Regions from separate parts of the Homo sapiens genome. Here regions 1, 3 and 4 are each linked to region 2. Evidence: promoter capture Hi-C in 16 types of primary human blood cells and fetal thymus (Javierre and others, 2016). All regions are on one chromosome and are shown on one strand. Each heading gives the region's core, a stretch centred on a gene start or on the middle of the fragment in contact. The rest is flanking DNA. Distances are from core to core; before and after follow the strand shown.

What was found. Contacts are between HindIII fragments. The CHiCAGO score rates a contact against its expected background, and 5 or more counts as called.
Region 1: a contact is called between the fragment with the promoter of C2orf81 here and the fragment with the promoter of PRADC1 in region 2, in 1 of 17 cell types (naive CD8 T cells). The highest score is 6.2, in naive CD8 T cells.
Region 3: a contact is called between a fragment that was not itself captured here and the fragment with the promoter of PRADC1 in region 2, in 1 of 17 cell types (neutrophils). The highest score is 5.8, in neutrophils.
Region 4: the fragment with the promoter of RTKN here is called in contact with the fragment with the promoter of PRADC1 in region 2 in 1 of 17 cell types (naive CD8 T cells); the score reaches 5.1 in naive CD8 T cells.

The regions. Positions count from the first base shown.
Region 1 is chr2:74,420,286-74,422,985 of GRCh38, forward strand. It overlaps C2orf81 (chromosome 2 open reading frame 81), which reads right to left and starts at 1,334. Exons shown (of 3, transcript NM_001316764.3): 1 at 1,258-1,334. The coding sequence starts at 1,275. WDR54 (WD repeat domain 54) reads left to right here and starts at 1,445. Exons shown (of 10, transcript NM_032118.4): 1 at 1,445-1,531; 2 at 1,868-2,090; 3 at 2,585-2,647. The coding sequence starts at 1,869. RefSeq lists a silencer at 1,265-1,544 and an enhancer at 1,945-2,124. The HindIII fragment of the contact is 12,224 bases long and covers 331-2,700 here.
Region 2 is chr2:73,231,858-73,234,557 of GRCh38, forward strand. It overlaps PRADC1 (protease associated domain containing 1), which reads right to left and starts at 1,382. Exons shown (of 5, transcript NM_032319.3): 1 at 1,237-1,382. The coding sequence starts at 1,303. CCT7 (chaperonin containing TCP1 subunit 7) reads left to right here and starts at 2,451. Exons shown (of 12, transcript NM_006429.4): 1 at 2,451-2,527. The coding sequence starts at 2,522. RefSeq lists a silencer at 1,429-1,638 and enhancers at 1,926-2,457, 2,099-2,148, 2,269-2,338. The HindIII fragment of the contact is 3,259 bases long and covers 1-2,421 here.
Region 3 is chr2:74,397,067-74,399,766 of GRCh38, forward strand. It overlaps DCTN1-AS1 (DCTN1 antisense RNA 1), which reads left to right. Exons shown (of 3, transcript NR_158174.1): 3 at 1-1,602. Among named protein-coding and RNA genes, the nearest start is that of DCTN1-AS1, 13 kb to the left of the region's middle. The HindIII fragment of the contact is 2,857 bases long and covers 1-2,700 here.
Region 4 is chr2:74,440,680-74,443,379 of GRCh38, forward strand. RTKN (rhotekin) reads right to left here and starts at 1,258. Exons shown (of 12, transcript NM_001015055.2): 1 at 1,027-1,258. The coding sequence starts at 1,137. RefSeq lists silencers at 1-183, 899-958, 1,269-1,348. The HindIII fragment of the contact is 8,784 bases long and covers 1-2,700 here.

The DNA.
Region 1 (2,700 bases), core at 84-2,583, 1.2 Mb after region 2:
TTAAAAAAAAAAAAAGACTAGTCCCCAAAACTCACTTTAGAGACATAAAAAGTTTACAAACAATCTCTTGGGAGCTCCCTCAATTCCCCACAACAGTCTCCCTGAACCTGGTTCCTTCCAAAATGTACTTCCAAATGTGATCTTCCCAAACCTTTGCCTATTGCCCCGCTAAAACCTTGTCTCATATCTGTTTCCTAAAATTCATTATCCCCCCAAATCTGCTGTTTCCTAAGTCTTGCAGAACTCAAAATCCCTGAAGTCTCATTAACCCTATCCACCAGTGAGAACAGCCCTGTAGCAAGCACCAGGAGTGGCCCATAGCCCAGGCCAAGCTTGACTAGAGCAGGGCTGACTGGACTGAGTAAAGAGAGTTGTTTCCTTAGACCTCCCCTCCCAGCCTCGCATCTGACACCCGTGATGGTGACCAGAAGGGACAGAGATATTTTTGCACAAAGGCTCTTCAAATCCGTTTTCTTTCTTCTTCTTCTTTTTTTTTTTTTTTTTTTTTTTTTTTTGAGACAGTCTCTCTCTGTCACCCAGGCTAGAGCGCAGTGGCGCGATCTCGGCTCACTGCAACCTCCGCCTCCCGAGTTCAAGCAATTCTCCTGCCTCTGCCTCCCGAGTAGCTGGGATTACAGGCACCGCGCCACCACATCCAGCTAATTTTTTGTATTTTAGTCGAGACGGGGTCTCGCCATGTTGGCCTGGCTGGTCTTGAACTCCTGAGCTCAGGCAATCCTCCCGCCTCAGCCTCTCAAAGTGCTGGGATTACAGGCATGAGCCATTGAGACCGGCCCCGTTTTCTTTATTTTAAAATTGATTGGCTCTTAAACAATTTGACTTTCAAGTGCAGTCTCTGAATTATTTAATATATTTCTTCCTCTTGAAATTCTCGAAATAGATTTTTTCTGTTATCTTCCCTCTCTAAATGCTCATCCATTTAAATACGCACCACCATGTAAGAGACTTACTACATTCATTAGCTGTTTCAAAATCCACTTCCTGTTCTCGGGCTCTACACCACCCACTGACCCTTTCCCTCATGGCTTGAGTGTAACAAAGCGTTTGAGTGGGCACCGTGCAGGTGTAGGTTTTCTGCCCGAGTACCGACGTGGCTTCCTTGGTCATCTAAACTCCCGCGCGGTGGGCGGGAGCAAGTAGGGGCACTGGGCGGCCCAGAGCCAGCCCACTGTTCCCGACACCGACCTTAACGGCCGACCCTGGCTCTGGCGCATCCCCAGCTGAACTGAAGCTCACCGAGCCTTCGTGCGCCATCGCCAACGCGGTCGCAGCAACGCTGGTGTTTCTGCTGCATCCGGGCCGCGTAAGCCACCTAACAGTCGCCTGGGCAACCACGGGCTCGGGGTCGCTCGCCCCGCCCACAGTTGCCCCGGCAACCGCGCCGCCCGCGGCACGTTCCGGCCGCTCACCCCGCCCAAGGGCCGTGCGTACGTGCGTCGTCTCTATGGTGGCGGCGGATTTGGAGGGACCCTACGAACCAGGAGTCAGGCGAGCCGATCTGGGGCTGCAGGTGTTACCTCTGATCTAGGCCGGGGGCTTCAGGGATCCGAGCCGAGGGAGAAAGCCTTGGGGGCTTCATCACACTTATTTGGCTCGCGGGCTTGGGGCCATCGGGTGGTCCTGTGTCATCCCCATTCCTCCTCTGCGATTCCCCCGTCGCCCCAAAACAGCCCTGGGACTCCCCTGTCTTGCTCCTCGAGACCCTCCCCCATCACCGTCCTCTGGGCACCCCATCCTATGACCCAGTCTCAGGCATCTTCCGAAATGCTCGATGATAGCCGCCCTCGGGCATCTCCGCTGCGTCTGTTTGTAGCGCGCCTGGTGATTCGGCTGCACCCCCACACAGGATGTTCCGCTGGGAGCGCTCCATTCCCCTGCGAGGCTCGGCCGCCGCCCTGTGCAACAACCTCAGTGTGCTGCAGCTGCCGGCTCGCAACCTCACGTATTTTGGCGTGGTTCATGGACCAAGCGCCCAGCTTCTCAGCGCTGCTCCTGAGGGTGTGCCCTTGGCCCAGCGCCAGCTCCACGCTAAGGAGGGTGCTGGAGTGAGTCCCCCACTTATCACTCAGGTGAGGCATGGAGCTGGGAGTGATGTTGCTGAACCCAGTCCTACCCCCAGCCTTTTCTCTCCAAACCTTCAGGAGCAGGCATGTCCTAACCTCAGAATCTCCCCAGGCATGTCCTAACCTCAGAATCTCCCCTCTCCTGCCGGGCGCGGTGGCTCACGCCTGTAATCCCAACACTTTGGGAGGCTGAGACGGGCACTTGAGGCCAGGAGTTCGAGACCAGCCTGGCCAACATGGTGAAACCTCTTCTCTACTAAGAATACAAAAAAAATTAACCGGGTGTGGTGGCGTGCACCTGTAATCCCAGCTACTTGGGTGGCTGAGGCAGGAGAATCGCTTGAACCCAGGAGGCTGAGGTTGCAGTGAGCCGAGATGGCGCCACTGCACTCCAGCCTGGGCCACAGAGCAAGACTCCGTCCCCCAAAAAAAAAAAAAAAACAAACAAACTCATCTTCCCTGCTTTGATTTTCTCCCTACACTGATGCACCTCCCTCCAGGTCCACTGGTGTGTCCTCCCCTTCCGAGTGCTGCTGGTACTCACCTCACATCGAGGAATACAGGTAAGAAGAGGACTCTCCTGCTTGCCCCACCAGAGCCTTCTCAGCTTCCCTGC
Region 2 (2,700 bases), core at 132-2,631:
TAAACTTTCCTGAATGGGTGAACAACTATATCTAGCTCCACAGCACCGATGAAGAGAATTTCCAGACCACTAGATTTTTCTGGGGCATGGGATCTTCTCCTCAGCACCAAAGTTTAATGTTGTACCTGGACTTGAGTCCCTGGTTTCCTTAACCCAGAGAGACTGCGGAATGTTGAAAGATAAAAACTGCTGTCATGGGCGGGCGCGGTGGCTCACGCCTGTAATCCCAGCACTTTGGGAGGCCGAGGCGGGCAGATCACGAGGTCAGGAGATCGAGACCATCCTGGCTAACACGGTGAAACCCCCGTCTCTACTAAAAATACAAAAAAATTAGCCGGGCGTGGTGGTGGGCGCCTGTAGTCCCAGCTACTTGGGAGGCTGAGGCAGGAGAATGGCGTGAACCCGGGAGGCGGAGCTTGCAGTGAGCCGAGATCGGGCCACTGCACTGCAACCTGGGCGACAGAGCAAGACTCCGTCTCAAAAAAAAAAAAAAGAAAAAAAGAAAACTGCTGTCACAAGTCTGTTAGTCTATCAACAAACTACCAAGTCACTACTGTGTACCAAGGATGGCATTAAGGCTTTAGCTGTCTTTGTTTACTGCCCAAATCACAGCCATCAGTTAGAGCTCCCATGGCTTGGCACTGGGCTATACAGTCCTGGGAGTGGGGACTCCCTCTCGGATACAAATACACCCCCAGAAAGCCTTCCTGGACTAGCGTCAAACTCACTCCCTCCTCCCCAACCCTTGCTTGCCTTTGTGTGTGCTTATTTGTGTAAGTTGTGGGTATACGTATGTGCTCACTTATGTGCATAGATGTATACATTTATGTGCTTGTGTAGGTGTAAACGGTTTGTGCGTGTGTGCCCACGTGTAGGAATGTGTGCTCCTGTGTACATGTGAATGCTCACATACATATCTCCAGCCTGTAGTATCCTTCCTTAGCTGTCCCTTCTGGTCGCACCCTAAGTCACCTGGGTCGGCGCTAGTGGGCGGGGAGGGGCGAGTGGGGAGATCTGCTTTGTCGTGGGAAGGTGAGGAGTCAGAGCTTCAGCCTCAGGCTGCGCCCACTTTATGTCCTTGGACCACCACCCACTTATTCCGGCCGCCCGCTCCCAGACCTGTCCTGCTCTGAACTCGCAGGGTCCCCAAGGTGACCCTTGGCCCCCAACCCGAGACGCGCGCAAGCTGGACGGCCAGCCCCGCCCTGCAACGCAGTCCCACCCGTTGCCGCTCACCGTGGGCCGCGACGCACGCGGGGAGCCAGAGCACGAGACAACACCAGCCCGCGGCGCCGGGGACCATCTCCAGGGCCGGGCCCGGCCCGGCGCCGCGTTTCCTCTCGCCGCCCCGCCGCGCGTCGCTCGCAGGACTTCAGCCTGACAGCTGCTCCGGCCTCCCGCCCACATACCCGCTCTCGCCGCGGGCTGGACGACGGGAACGAGGCTCAAGGCTGATTGGCTCTGACGCCTGCTCATGTAGCCACACTTTCCGCCTCTGCGCCTTAGCCTACTTCCTATTGGTCGAGAGAAGTGGAGCCGGGGGCTGATTGGCTTAAACTCTTAACAGCTACAACCGGCCTTCGCCTCAGCCCCGCCCCAGCATACTCTCCGGGTCCTCGCTGGCGGTGGGCGGGCCAGGGAGGACAAGCACTGGAGGTGTGCCCGTAGCCGGACTTGCTTCAGCTGTCGATAGTCGAGGCCGTTAACCCTTGCGGTCTCGGTCCTGTCCACTCCAAGGCCGCCTCGATTGACGACGATTAGCCTTCTCCCAGCTGCGCTTCCCTCCTCCCAGCTGCGCTTCCCTCCTCCCCACGCCTTCACGGGAAGGCACTCGTCTTGCGCCAGGGGGTCTTCCGCCCAGTGCCACCAACGCTTGCGCGCTCACCGTGGATAGGCGCTGGGGCCGCGGCCTGGCGCACGCCATCCACGAGGAGCCTCTGGCCAGTGCAAAGCCAGAAAACGGGCATTGGGGGCAGCTTCCCACGCTCGTCCCGTTGACACTGACTATGTAACTGTGACACTGGACACCTTGACCTCTCAGCCTCCTTTCTGTCATCAGTAAAATGGCCTTAATAGGACCAACGCAATAGGGTTGTGAGGATTAAATGAGATCGCTCACGTAAAGTGCTTTGGCACCAGCCTATCCCACACTTTGCGTCCCACACTTTTGCCTTTATTGCATTCCTTGGTCTGGCGTCCGGGGATGGAGGAGGGTGGAATTAAGTTAGTAGGTGATGCGGGCCGAGCAAAGACCCTCCGTGCTCTAAGAAGCACGACCGAAATGCGGCGACCCCTCTTTAATGAACGCCCCTCACTAGAGAGTCCCCGAAGCCCAGCCTCAGGTCCTTCTAGCCGCACCGAGTCGGTGGTAACGAACCATAGAGTAGCGGAAGTGGTCCGTTCTCTTCCTCTCCCGGCCCAAGCTTCTGGGTATTTCTATTGCGCGAGGCATTGTGGGTTGCTGGGCGGCCCGGTCTCGGAGAAGAGGGGAGAGTGGCGGGCCGCTGAATAAGCTTCCAAAATGATGGTGAGTGGCGTCTCGCGCATCCGTCGCCATCAGCTGCCATCTGGCCGGTGGCCGGCGCCGCTCGGCCTGGGCTTGCTCTGTAGGACCCTCTTTTGCTTGCCGCCTCTGTCCTCGCCCAGATCCCCAGCTTAGGGGCGACCCCAGCCAGCCGCGGCCTGGCTCGGCCCGAGCAC
Region 3 (2,700 bases), core at 178-2,677, 1.2 Mb after region 2:
GCTTTTTGTTAAAACAAATACAGATCCTTGAAAAGAATGTAAGATCTCATTAGATTCTCTAAAATCAGGAATACGAAGATGCCGAATATCTCTGAGTCTGATCAACACTGTATTTGAACTAGTGCATCAAGGCAAGAAAAACGTATATAAAAGACATAAAGATTAGAAAGAAGGAAATTAAACTGTCATTTTTCACAGATGATATGATGACTTACATGGAAAAGGCCAAAATAGGCCGGGTGCAGTGGCTCACGCCTGTAATCCCAGCACTTTGGGAGGCCAAGGTGGGTGGATCACTTGAGGTCAGCAGTTCGAGACCAGTCTGGCCAACATGGTGAAACCCCATCACGACTAAAAATACAAAAATTAGCTGGGCATGCTAGCACGTACCTGTAATCCCAGTTACTTGGGAGGCTGAGGCAGGAGAATTGCTTGAACCTGGGAGGGAGGCAGAGGTTGCAGTAAGCCGAGATTGCACCACTGCACTCCAGCCTGGGCGAAGAAGCAAAACTCCATCTCAAAAAAAAAAAAAAAGCCAAAATAATCTGTAAATTATTAGGATTGATTAGAAAATATTTAGCAACGTGACTAGATATAAAATCAACATGCAAAACTCAATTGCATTTCTCTAACCAACAATGAAAAGTTAAATTATATAATTTTTGAAATGAAACTGATGCACCTAGTAATAAACAACAAAATATGTGCACAACCCGGCCAGGCTCAGTGGCTCATACCTGTAATCCCAGCACTTTGGGAGTCCGAGGCAGGCGGATCACAAGGTCAGGAGTTTGAGACCAGCCTGACCAACATGGTAAAACCCCGTCTCTACTAAAAATACAAAAATTAGCCAGGCATGGTGGCACGCGCCTGTAATCCCAGCTACTCAGGATGCCGAGGCAGGGGAATTGCTTGAACCCGGGAGGCAGAGGTTGCAGTGAGCCGAGATTGTGCCACTGCCCTCCAGCCTGAGTGACAGAACGAGACTCCGTCTTAAAAAAAAAGGTGGGGTGGTCAGGCAGGGTAGCTCACGCCTGTAATCCTAACACTTTGGGAGGCCGAGGCAGGCAGATCACTTGAGGTCAGGAGTTCGAGACCAGCCTGGCCAAAATGGTGAAACCCCGTCTCTACTAAAAATACAAAAATTAGCTGAGTGTGATGCCTGTAATCCCAGCTACTTGGGAGGCTGAGACAGAAGAATTGCTTGAACCCGGGAGGTGGAGGCTGCAGTGAGCCGAGATCGCACCACTGCACTCCAGCTTGGGTGACAGAGAGAGACTCCGTCTCAAAAAAATAAAAAAGACTGAGAGATGAGAGATGTGCACAACCCAAAATTACAAAATTATATTTGGAAACATACATTAAAGATAGCCTGTGGCTCACGCCTGTAATCCCAACACTTTGCAAGGCCAAGGCTGGTGGATCACTTGAGGTTAGGAGTTCGAGACCAACCTGGCCAACATGGCAAAACTCCATCTTTATTAAAAATACAAAAATTAGCCGGGTGTGCTGGCACCCGCCTGTAATCACCCAAGAGGCTGAAGCAGGAGAATCGCTTGAACCAGGAGACAGAGGTTACAGTGAGCAGGGATCGTGCCACTATACTCCAGCCTGGGCAAAGAAGCGAGAGTCCATCTGGAAAAAAAAAAAAAGGTAGCTTAAATGAATGAGAGATATAGCACACTTATGAATAGGAAAATTTAAAGTCATAAAGAAGTTAGTTGCCCTGTATTAATAATATGTATTTGAGATAACTCCAATCAATATTCTATCAGGATATTCTAGGAACTTGACAACAAATTAGTAATTTTGTAGAGAAAAGCAAAGGGCAAAAAATTAGCCAGGAAACTTCTGAAAAAAAGAAGACAGTTGACACGGTGAAACCCCATCTCTACTAAACATACAAAAATTAGCCGGGCATGGTGGCGCGCGCCTGTAGTCCCAGCTATTCAGGAGGCTGAGGCAGGAGAATGGTGTGAACCCAGGAGGTGGAGCTTGCAGTGAGCCGAGATTGCGCCACTGCACTCCAGCCTGGGTGACAGAGCAAGACTCCATCTCAAAAAAAAAAAGAGTGTGGCTGTGTGTGTGTGTGCTTATTTTAAAGTTTATTAAGTAAAGCAATATAGTATTGACGTAGGGATAGAAAGAGTCTAGATCTAAAAACAAACTAAAACATATACCTACAAAAACTTCGTTTTTTAAAATTATTATTATTGTTTTAGAGACAGGTTCTCACTCTGTGACCCAGGCTGGAATATAGTAGTGTGATCATAGCCGTAACCTCTAACTCCTGGGCTCAAGCAATCCTTCTGCCTCAGCCTCCTGAGTAGCTAGGATTGCAGGCAGTCATCACCACACCTGGCTAATTTTTTTATTTTTATTTTTGTAGATACGGGGTCTTGCCATGTTGCCTACGTTGGTCTTGAACTCTTGGCCTAAAGTGATTCCCGTACCTTGGCCTCCCCAAGCGCTGGAATTACAGGTGCAAGCCACCACACCAGGCCAAAAACTTAATATATGACAAAATTTGTATTATTGATCAGTGAGGGAAAGATATACCATTCAAAAAATGGTGCTGGGACAATTAGGTATTCAAATGCAAAAGCAAGCAAGAAAGGAAAGAATAAAAGAAGGAAAAAAGGGAGGGAAGGAGGGAGAGAGGAACAAATTAAGTGCTTCCATTTCTGGTGCTACCGTGGA
Region 4 (2,700 bases), core at 8-2,507, 1.2 Mb after region 2:
GGTTCCTCGGGCCCAGTCGCTTGGGGGCAAGGGGACGCGACAAAGGCCCCCTCTCCCCAGGTCCACTAGCTTCTGAGTCAGAGAAGGCCCGGGACGCCGGGACAAGGGTGTGAAAGAGCCTCTTTGTTCTGGGCAGGCTGGAGGGAAAGGGCAGAAGCCAGGCCTGGAATCCCAGCCGGGAGGTAGAGGGGGCGGAAGGAAGGCCCACCTCACTTAACCCTTTCCAGACCCGGAAGGGAAGGCTTGGAACTGGGCTCTCCTTGGGCGAGTGTGAGTCTGACCTTGGGGACAGAAGAGTCTTCGGGGTAGCTATTCGCCCTCTCAGTCCCCGCTCAACCACACACCTTCAGCCCCGCCCTAGCCCTTAGGGCGTTACAGGTGGGGATCCAACAGGTTAACGCGTGGACGGCGGACGGGGGAAACGCTCAGCCTAGGGGCTGGACTCCTCTTAGGCCCCAGAAAAGGAGGCGGAAATTTTGCGTGTGGGAAGTAACCCCAAGGAGTTAAAAGCCCTGCAGGGGCATAGAGGAGCCTTTGAATTGGGCTTCGGGGAAGCGAGCGGCCCCGGCCTAAAGTCGGGGTTGATGACAGAGGCTGGCCCAGATGGCTGCGACAGGTTGTGGGATGGGGCTGGCGACTGGGGAACAAGCGGGAGCCCAGGCCAAGAGTCCGAGCGCTTGGGGCCCGCCTAGCTGCCCACCGCCCTTGGCCCGGGGATGCCCAAGACATTTTGGGGTTCAGGCACATTTTAGGAGTCGAGCTGGGGCCCTACAAATTGAGACCAACCCGGGCTTTTTCCAGGCTCAGGCAGATAATCCTAACCAGGCCGCGGAATGGGCAGCATGGATCCGATGAAAATGCAGACCGTCCACACCTTACTTTTTAAGTCAACAACTCCGTCGGGTTTGTACCCAGACCGTGCGTCTCCGCCCCTCGGCGTGCACGCGGGCGAGGGAAGGAGGCCGAGGTGGCTGGGGCTGCCCCCGGGAGCCGCGGAAGGGGAAGGCAGGGACGCGAGTCTCTCACCTCGGGCAGGTCGCTGAAGAGGCTGAGTCGGAAGCGGCCGCGTTTGAACTCCATCTCCAGGGCGGAGCCCCTGGCCACGGTGACCCGGCTCCGGTGGTTTCGGGAGAACATGCTGGCGGCCCTGCGACTTTGCCTGCTCAGTGCGCTCCCCGCGCCGCCCGGCTTAGCCTCCTCTCCTCGGCTTCTGTCTCTCGACGCTCGTCCGCCAGTCCGGCCGGGAATCTCCCGCTGCGGGGCTCCAAACCCCGCCCCCGGAGACGACACCTGGGCCGGGCAGGGCGCGGCAACCTCCTCTTCCACCCCCGCCAAAGGCCCAGCCCGTCCGGCCAGTCCCTGGGCGCCAAGCCGACCTGGCCCGACGGCCCCGGAGCCCCCAGGGGCGCACTGCACCTCGCGAGCACTGTGGGAGCGCGTTCTCCCTGCCCGCGCGGGTCGCGAGCGCCTACCTGGACTTGGGACGGACCGAGAAGCCCTGCCCCGCCAGCCGCCCCAACCTGGCAAGCCTGGCTTCCCGGGCGCTGAAAACCCCGTGGCTCAGGGATCGCCGCGTAGCACGCTCTGGCTCTACTCGGGCCCTGGGACCTTGCCCAGTTTCAATCCCGGCAGCCTCCGAAGAGACCATTTCAACATCCCACAGTCCCAAATGTTCCTTCTTCGTCCCCCTCCCCACCTAGGCTCCTCTGCGAGGCTATCCGCCTAAGCCTAGTGGCCACAACTGATGGGGCGGTGCTTAAACACGTCGTGAAACCCCAGCTCTGTCACTAACTAACCGTGCAATCATTAACTTGGTCCAGTCACTGGCCTTTCTGAGCTTCAGTTTTCTCATTTGTTCAGTGGGAATACTGTAATTATCTCCACTCCTCAAGTTGCTATGAGGATTACCTATAAGAATGAGGGTAAAATGCCCAGCATAGTGCCTGGCACAAGGCAAGTGCCCCATATTTGCAGTCATAAAGAGCAGCTGCGCGCGGTGGCTCACGCCTGTAATCGCAGCACTTTGGGAGGCCTAGGAGGGTGGATCACCTGAGGTTGGGAGTTCGAGACCAGCCTGACCAACATGGAGAAACCCCATCTCTACTAAAAATACAAAATTTAGCCGGCCATGGTGGCACATGCCGGTAATCCCAACTACTTGAGAGGCTGAGGCAGGAGAATCGCTTAAACCCGGGAAGCAGAGGTTGTGGTGAGCTGAGACCCCACCATTGCACTCCACCCTTGGAAACAAGAGCGAAACTACGTCTAAAAAAAAGATGGCTGGGTGCAGTGGCTCAAGCCTGTAATCCTAGCACTTTGGGAGGCCAAGGGGGACTGATCGCTCTTGAGCTCAGGAGTTGGAGACCAGCCTGGGCAACATGAAACCCTGTCTCAACAAAACACACACACACACGCACACACACACACAAATTGGCCTGGCATGGTGGTGCACACCTGTAGTCCCAGCTACTCGGGAGGCTAAGGTGGGAGGATTGCTTGAGCCCGAAAGTTCAAGTCCAGCCTGGGCAACATAGTGGGACCCCATCTCTTAAAAAGCATTACAAATATGTATAATTTTTTATTTTTATTTATTTATTTATTTATTTATTTTAATTTTTTTTTTTTAAGACAGAGTCTCACTCTGTCACCCAGGCTGGAGTGCAATGGCATGATCTCGACTCACTGCAACCTCTGCCTCCT